Regions from separate parts of the Homo sapiens genome. Here region 1 is linked to region 2. Evidence: promoter capture Hi-C in 16 types of primary human blood cells and fetal thymus (Javierre and others, 2016). All regions are on one chromosome and are shown on one strand. Each heading gives the region's core, a stretch centred on a gene start or on the middle of the fragment in contact. The rest is flanking DNA. Distances are from core to core; before and after follow the strand shown. Region 1 overlaps FBXL20 (F-box and leucine rich repeat protein 20). Region 2 holds the start of MED1 (mediator complex subunit 1).

Region 1 (4,411 bases), core at 1,114-3,613, 190 kb before region 2:
AGTGGCACACACCTGTAGTCCCAGCTACTTGGGAGGCTGAGGTGGGAGGAAGGCTTGAGCCCAGGAGTTTGAGTCCAGGCTGGGCAAGATAGCGAGACCCCATCTCTAAAAAAATAAAATAAAATAAAATAAATAAATAAAACAAGCCTTTTAATAGTCTGGATCATATAGAAGATTAATATTATGATGGATTGCACATTAATGTCTCAAAGGACACCCCCCGCCAAAATCACCCTACTAAAAATCACACTGGGTTTCTAATCTTGGGGTTTAGAAATTTTCTTCTTATGCTTTAAAAACTCATTTTACTTCCTTTATCCTCTGATTTTTTGGGAAGACAGAGGGTGCTTCTTCTTGGACTCTTGAGTCCTGGACACTAAATTCCTCCCTCAGTTCTAGTGCCCAGGCTAAGCAGAGACACTAAACCCCTTACTTCCTCTCAGTGTTCTCTTTCAGCTGCCTCAATGCTTCACCTGGCTACATTCATACTTCATTCAGAAGTCTGAACAGGGCCGGGCATGGTGGCTCATGCCTGTAGTCCCAGCACTTTGGGAGGCTGAGGCAGGTGGATCATTTGAGGTCAGGAGTTCAAGACCAGGCTGGCCAACATGTGAAACCCCATCTCTACTAAAAATACAAAAATTAGCCAGGCAGTAGTGGTGCATGCCTGTAATCCCAGCTACTCGGTAGGCTGAGGCAAGAGAATCGCTTGAGCCTGGGAAGTGGAGGTTGCGGTGAGCCGAGATCGCACCACTGCACTCCAGTCTGGGCAAGAGTGAGAACCCGTCTTAAAAAAAAAAAAAAAAAAAAAAAAAGACTGGGGCAGAAAAGAGAGATGACTGACAGGTTATGGGAAGGTTCTGGCCCTTTGGGGTGCCAACACTAGATATGAATCCATTAACACTGACATACAATTGACCAGCTGTTATAGAGCCATTCTTGTATCCCTGAAAGGCTGAAATGGGGGAAAAGAGAGAAACAGACTGGCTAGAATACACAGCTCCTCTAGTGGCATTCCTGTTAAAACAACCTCATAGGTCAGAGATGCCACTGATCACTCCTAGATTTCAGTAAATATATAATAACATTAATCATTAATGTCTGAACTTGGGTGTTGGGGACTTTCAGGCTCTGTTTTGTGATTTATCATTTTCACTCTTTCCTAATAATACATCTCTCTCTTTCCTTATGATACAGTTGGTGGAGTCTGACAGAAGGAAGAATATGTAGGGGGAATATTGGGGATACCATGCGAATTATCACATATCAGAAGATAAAATAGAAACCAAAAGGTAGCATCTGTTTTCATCAAAACAGTTTCTTCTCATAACTTTTCTTGCTTTCATTAGAGTTTCCTTGCAGGTTGGCAAAGATTCAGGCAGGGTCCCCTAATGGTAAAATTTAGAATTAAAAAAATATTTATTGATAATATCTTTTTAAAAAATGTTTGGTAATCCCAACTAATCATTCAAAATGCAAACTGTAAACACGACAACAGCAAAAGGGTAACAATTGAGTGAGTAAGCAGACTGAACAGGTGACAGACTGAGCAAGAGTGTGGGGGGGAGCAACAGAGAATGTAAGACAGGTGCACAAGTGTGCTACAGACAGTGATAATTTGAGTGTGTAAGAATTACATTTGGACCACAGTGATTTCAAGGCAACCATTTAGGAAACCTCTGGGCCAAATACTAAAACACAGGAGGAATGGACGAGCCTTCTTTGTGAGCATGCTCAGCATGTTGGCATGGAAACAAGGAAGCATAGAAGCTCTTTAGTCACAATGAATGTCTACCATTTCTAAGATGCAAAGAAATTTTCTTTCTGGTCCCTGGGTACATCATATATTGTCTTTCCATGCTTTTCTTGACCCCGGAGGACAGCAGATGCTGTTCTAAAATCCCCAAAGAAACCCCTAGACAAAAATTTAAAAACCACAGTAGCATTAACACGGGGTTTGCTGGAATGCCCCTCCCTATCTTGGCCTATGATTTTCTTATGGGCACCTCAACAGGAATGGTTAAATTTTACCAATCTACTTGATAAAAAAGCCATCACAAACTTCAGTCCCATGGTCACAAAGCTAGAGTGGATGGGGGTAAGGGTGTGTATGTGTATGTATGTGTGGCTCTGGGGATCTGGACACTGCCCTCCCTCACTTTGTAACCCTTGCTCAGAACACTGGGGTTGCTTCCACTGGAGAGACTCCACGGTAGCTCTAGAAGTGTCATTAAATACTCAGTTCGCCAAGGTTGACCACCTCCATTGTCATAGGATGATGCAGCATCTGCAGAAGCGCTGTCTGCTGCCCCCTACTGATGGGGGTGGAGTGACAGGTGCGAAGTAGGCGTGGACTTTAATATTGGGTAAATGGGTCTGAAACAAGACAGAAACATTAAACGTTTAAGAGAGGGCTTAAACAGAAAGAGCAATGTTGGTTCTTAGAAAAACTACCGAGGGGCTCAATGAACATAAAAGCAGGGCAAAGGCTGAGCACTGGTCAGGATGTTAGAGGGCCTGGGTTCTACTTTGTTCCATCCTAGGTTGTTCTCAATGACCAGAACAACTCATATGACTTTGGTACCTGTTTGTGTAATAATAAAACTGAGGGCCGGGCGCGGTGGCTCACGCCTGTAATCCCTGCACTTTGGGAAGCCGAGACGGGCGGATCACGAGGTCAGGAGATTGAGACCATCCAGGCTAACATGGTGAAACCCCGTTTCTACTAAAAATACAAAGGCTAATTTTTGTATTGTTAGTAGAGACGGGGTTTCACCATGTTGGCCAGACTGGTCTCGAACTCCTGACCTCAAGTGGTCCGCCCAAGGATGGGAGATGGAAGAGACTCCTGGCAGCCAGGCAGTCTAGGAACCCTAATGTAAGTAGGCACGTAAGAGGCTCTGGTTGACCTGTGGCTCTCATTCTCTTTGGTGAAGAAAAAAAATGGCTGCAAGGCCACCCCCAGTGCAATTATGCTCACAGTCCTCTATGTCTGAAGAGGGGAAGAGGAACTGAGGCCAACTCGAACTCAAGATGAAGTTTGGTACTCTTTTATTTGCTCAAGGCCATGTGGCCAACGTGGATTTTTTAGAGGTTGGTATTTTTTTTGAGATAGAGTTTCATCTTGTTGCCCAGGCTGGAGTGCAATGGTGTGATCTTGGCTCACTGCAACCTCCGCCTCCTGGTTCAAGCGATTTTCCTGCCTCAGCCTCCTGAGCAGCTGGGATTACAGGCACCTGCCACCATGCTCGGCTAATTTTTGTATTTTTAGTTGAGATGGCATTTCGTCATGTTGACCAGGCTGGTCTTGAACTCCTGACTTCAGGTGATCCTCATGCCTCAGCTTCCCAAAGTGCTGGGATTACAGGCGTGAGCCACCGCGACTGGCCTAGAGGTTGGTATTAAGGGCCTGAATAAGCACACTGCCTTTCCTACAGCAGGTGTGAAGCAGATGTTCCAATAAACATCTGTTGAGCAGAACAATCTAACACACAGATTCATCCAGCTTTTTAAAACTTCTTTTTCGGCCGGGCGCAGTGGCTCATGCCTGTAATCCCAGCACTTTGGGAGGCTGAAGCGGGCGGATCACGAGGTCAGGAGGTCGAGACCATCCTGGCTAACACGGTGAAACTCTGCCTCTACTAAAAATACAAAAAGAAAATTAGCCGGGCGTGGTGGCATGCACCTGTAGTCCCAGCTACTGGGGAGGCTGAGTCAGGAGAATAGCGTGAACCTGGGAGGCAGAGCTTGCAGTGAGCCAAGATCATGCCACTGCGCTCCAGCCTGGGTGACAGAGCGAGACTCTGTCTCAAAAAAAAAGAACAAAAAACTTCTTTTTCTAGTTATTTGGCTATACCTGGGTCTCTCTATTATGGTGGATAGGTCCAAAAGCAAAGGTAAAAATCTGGGCCTGGCACAGTGACTCACACCTGTAATCCGAGCACTTTGGGAGGCTGAGGTGGGAGGATCGCTTGAGGCCAGGAATTTGAGACTAGCCTGGGAAACATAGCAAGACCTTGTCTCCACAAAATAGTTTTTTAAGGCCGGGCATGGTGGCTCACACCTATAATCCCAGCACTTCTGAAGGCCAAGGCAGGCAGATCGCTTGAGCTCAGGAGTTTGAAACCGGCCTGGGCAACATGGTAAAATGCCGTCTCTACCAAAAATACAAAAAATCAGGCTGGCGTGATGGCACACGCCTGTAGTCTCAGCTGTTGGGAGGCTGGGGTGGCAGGAAGCCTTGAGCCTGGGAGACAGAGGTTGCAGTGAGCCAACATCGAGCCACTGCACTCCAGCCTGGGTGACAGAGGAGACCCTGTCTTAAAAAATGAAAAAAACAAGTTTTTCATAAAATTACCTAGGTGTGGTGGTGTGTGCCTGTAGTCCTAGCTACTGGGGATGCTGAGGTGGG
Region 2 (3,946 bases), core at 1,148-3,647:
GCCACTGCACTCCAACCTGGGCAACAAGAGCAAAACTCTGTCTCAAATAAATAAATAAATAAATGAAAATGCTAAAAAGACAGCAATGAACAAACTAGACAAAAACTCCTACTTCATGAAGTTTCCATTTTTACACTTGTTGTCTCCTTGCACCCAAGGAGTACATCTTTCTTTTCTTTTTTTTTTTTAAGACAGAGTATCACTCTGTAGCCCCAGCTTGAGTGCACTGGCACAATCAAGGCCTATTGCAGCCTCAACCTCCCATGCTCCAGGATCAAGTGATCCTCCCAGCTCAGCCTTCAGAGTAGCTGAGACTATAGCTAATTTTCCCTTGAAACAGGGTCTCGCTCTGTCGCCCAGGTTACAGTGCAGTGGCATGATTCTGGCTCACTGGAGCCTTGACCTACAGGATTCAGGTAATCCTCCCACCTCAGCCTCCCAAGTAGCTGGGACTACTGGCTTGTGCCACCATGCCTAGCTAATTTTTGTATCTGTTGTAGAGACAGGCTTTTGCCAGGTTGTCTAGGCTGGTCTCCAACTTGTGGGCTCAAGTGATTCGCCCGCTTCGGCCTCCCAAGGTGCTGGGATTACAGCCTTGAGCCACTACCTGGAGCTAATTTTTTATTTTATTTATTTTCAATTTTTTTTCTTTTTTTTTTTTTTTGAGACGGAGTTTTGCTCTTGTTGCCCAGACTGGAGTCCAGTGGCACTATCTTGGCTCACTGCAACCTCCACCTCCCGGGTTTGGGTGATTCTCCTGCCTCAGCCTACCAAGTAGCTGGGATTGCAGGCATGCCACTGTGCCTGGCTAATTTTGTATTTTTAGTAGAGAAAGGGTTTCACCATGTTAGCCAGTCTGGTCTTGAACTCCTAACCTCAGGTGATCCGCCCACCTCAGCCTCCCAAAGTGCTGGGATTACAGGAGTGAGCCACCACACCCGGCCTTTTTTTTTTTTTTTTTTTTTTGAGACGAAGTTTCGCTCTTGTAGCCCAGGTAGGAATGCAATGGCGCAGTCTTGGCTCACCACAACCTCCACCTCCTGGGTTGAAGCAATCCTCCCACCTCAGCCTCCCAGGTAGCTGGGATTACAGGCATTCACCACCACGCCCGGCTAATTTTGTATTTCTAGTAGAGACGGGTTTTCTCCATGTTGGTCAGGCTGGTCTCGATCTCCCAACCTCAGGTGATCCACCCGCCTCAACCTCCCAAAGTGCTGGGATTACACGCGTGAGCCACAGTGCCCGGCAATTTTTTTATTTTTTTTGTAGAGACAGGGCCTCAGTATGTTGCCCAGGCTGGTCGCGAACTCCTGGGCTCCAGGGATCCTCCAGCCGCAGCCTCCCAAAGCGCTGGGATTACAGGTGTGAGTCACTGCTCCCGGCCTCACCTTTCGACCTCTGCTCCAAAACACACTCTTTGTTTTTCTTGAGAAACCTGCTGATAAATATCTGTACTTCGATGCTCCAACACTTTTTGAGCGACTATTACGTGCCAGAAACTATACAAAAATAATCAGGCAAGGACTCTAATCTGCAAAGCTCAGAGGAAACTGGAGAAGATAAACAATAACACAGTTCACTGTATCAACAGAACTATGCCCAAAATGCTAAGGCAGCATCTTAGCCGGAGTGTGGAACTTTAGAAAATCTTAGTAAAGTTCCACAGAAAAGTTGTTTTTCTGCAGTTCGTAGTTCGGTCAATAAAAGAACGAAATTCAGCGCACTTTAAAAATACACAATGGCACAGGATCTGAACACTTGACATTGTAGAGAACTGCTGGCTGCTAATAAATATAAGGACCTAATCATTTCATTGATGCCAAAATAGTCTCCAGTACGTTTACACACAGCCCTAAATTTATTCAGGCGTCTCTTCTGGAACGAGATGTAAGCTGATTTTGTATTCATTTGCCCCGTCTCCCACCACTTTAGGCCAAAAGTGCCCTAGTCGAGCATGAAATCTTCACAGAAGTTGAGAGTCCCCATCGCCCTAAAGTCGAAGCTCTATAATCACCAAGGAGGGTATAGTGACAATCTAAAACTAATACACATTCCCTCTCCTGGACTCTATGCCCCTAAAGTGGCCCCCATGGGACATCTGCAAGAACCTCCTCTCACAAACTGGCTCCCCCAGTTGTGTCCCGCCCCCTCCTTTCCCCTACAGTCACTTACCCTCGGTTTCCCCCTGAGCTTTCATCCTGAAGGCGAGGAGAAGCTAGATCCGCCACAAAAGGATAAGCCCTTCCCCACCACTAACGGAGGAAACAAGTTGGCTCGGGATCCCGGGACGCAGGGCACCAGCAGTCCCTACTCTTCCCGGGAAGGATCAATCTGAAGTCCCCGGCGGCAAGAAGAGAAGGGTGCTCGAGGCCGCCGCCATCTTCCCCAACGGAACTTCCCAAAATTCGCGAGATAAACCGTGGTCCTGCCAGAGAGAGGAAGAGGACAGGGCATCGAAATCTCGCGAATATTGGTCAATGCGTCGGCCTCGCGAGATTTCTTTCAGCGCAGTCTTCCCTTTGATCTGAGCTGTCTCAGGCCTCGCGCCGCTGGATATTAAACCTGCCGGCCGGTAGCTTTCGGCTCCCCTGCGGAAACCGCCATTTTTTTTTTATTTTAGCAGTTAAACAGCTCGCAAATTAAAATCTCCAGATCCCTGTACTGAAAGACTAGCTTTTCTTTTTTTTTTAATTTTTTTTTTTTTTTTTTTGAGATGGAGTCTTGCTCTTGTCGCCCAGGCTGGAGTGCAATGGCACGATGTCGGCTCACTGCAACCTCCGCCTCCCGGGTTCAAGCGATTCTCCTGCCTCAGCCTCCCGAGTAGCTGGGATTACAGGCACCCGCCACCACGCCCAGCTATTTTTAGTAGAGACGGGGTTTCGCCGTGTTGGCCAGGCTGGTCTCGAACTCCTGACCTCGCTGTCCGCCCGCCTCGGCCTCCCAAAGTGCTGGGATTACAGGCATGAGCCACCACACCCGGCCATGACTAGATTTTCAAAGGCTATTGGTATCAGGAGTGTCTTATGAAAGATAAGTTTAACCTGAGATACTAGATGCAATAATTACATCCTAAGAAAGATAGTGGCGCATTGTAACATGACGTTCAAAGCGAGCCTATAGCACAGTTAATTCCCCTTTTCTCATTTTTTTAGTTTCAAAACTATTTCTGGCTAGGCGCAGTGGCTCATGCCTGTAATCCCAGCACTTTGGGAGGCCAAGGTAGGTGGATCATCAGGTCAGGAGTTTGAGACCAGCCTGGCTAACATGGTAAAACTCCGTCTCTACGAAAAATACAAAAATTAGCCAGGTGTGGTGGTGCGCTCCTGTAATCCCAGCTACTCGGGAGGCTGAAGCAGGAGAATCTCTGGAACCCGTGAAGCGAAAGTTGCAGTGAGCAGAGATCGCGTCACTGCACTCCAACCTGGGTGACAGAGTGAGACTGTCTCAAAAAGAAAAAACTGTATCCTTTACTATCCTCAAACTAAGTGTTCTTCACTTAGTAAGCATCTGTGGAGTCCTAATATGTGTATATTTGGAGCTGCTAATACAAACATGAAAACACGGCTGGTCGCGGAGCTACTCAGGAGGCTGAAGCAGGAGAAGCGCTTGAACCTGGGAGGCAGAGGTTGCAGTGAGCCGAGATCATGCTACTGCACTCCAGCCTGGGTGGCAGAGCAAGACTCTGTCTCAGACAAATAAACAAACATGAAAACACAACCCTAGCGCTTGATAGGCTAATCTTATTTAGAGTTCCGAAAATATGATTGGTCACTATAATCATAGGGGCTCAAAATTTTTTCATTAATTATTATGCCCTAAGTACCAATGCCAGATACCCAACTACACTTTATCATGGAAACTCTATACAAATAAAAAAAAAAGTCTGTACTAAGTGTTGCTAGGAAATTTTTAACTTTATAAAGCTTATAAATAAACTTTACTAACT

The links. Contacts are between HindIII fragments. The CHiCAGO score rates a contact against its expected background, and 5 or more counts as called.
Region 1: a fragment that was not itself captured here is called in contact with the fragment with the promoter of MED1 in region 2 in 1 of 17 cell types (M1 macrophages); the score reaches 5.0 in M1 macrophages.

Annotation. Positions count from the first base shown.
Region 1 is chr17:39,259,192-39,263,602 of GRCh38, forward strand. It overlaps FBXL20 (F-box and leucine rich repeat protein 20), which reads right to left. Exons shown (of 15, transcript NM_032875.3): 15 at 1-2,376. The coding sequence ends at 2,269. Among named protein-coding and RNA genes, the nearest start is that of STAC2, 35 kb to the left of the region's middle. The HindIII fragment of the contact is 6,330 bases long and covers 1-4,411 here.
Region 2 is chr17:39,448,866-39,452,811 of GRCh38, forward strand. It overlaps MED1 (mediator complex subunit 1), which reads right to left and starts at 2,398. Exons shown (of 17, transcript NM_004774.4): 1 at 2,173-2,398. The coding sequence starts at 2,197. The HindIII fragment of the contact is 4,305 bases long and covers 1-3,921 here.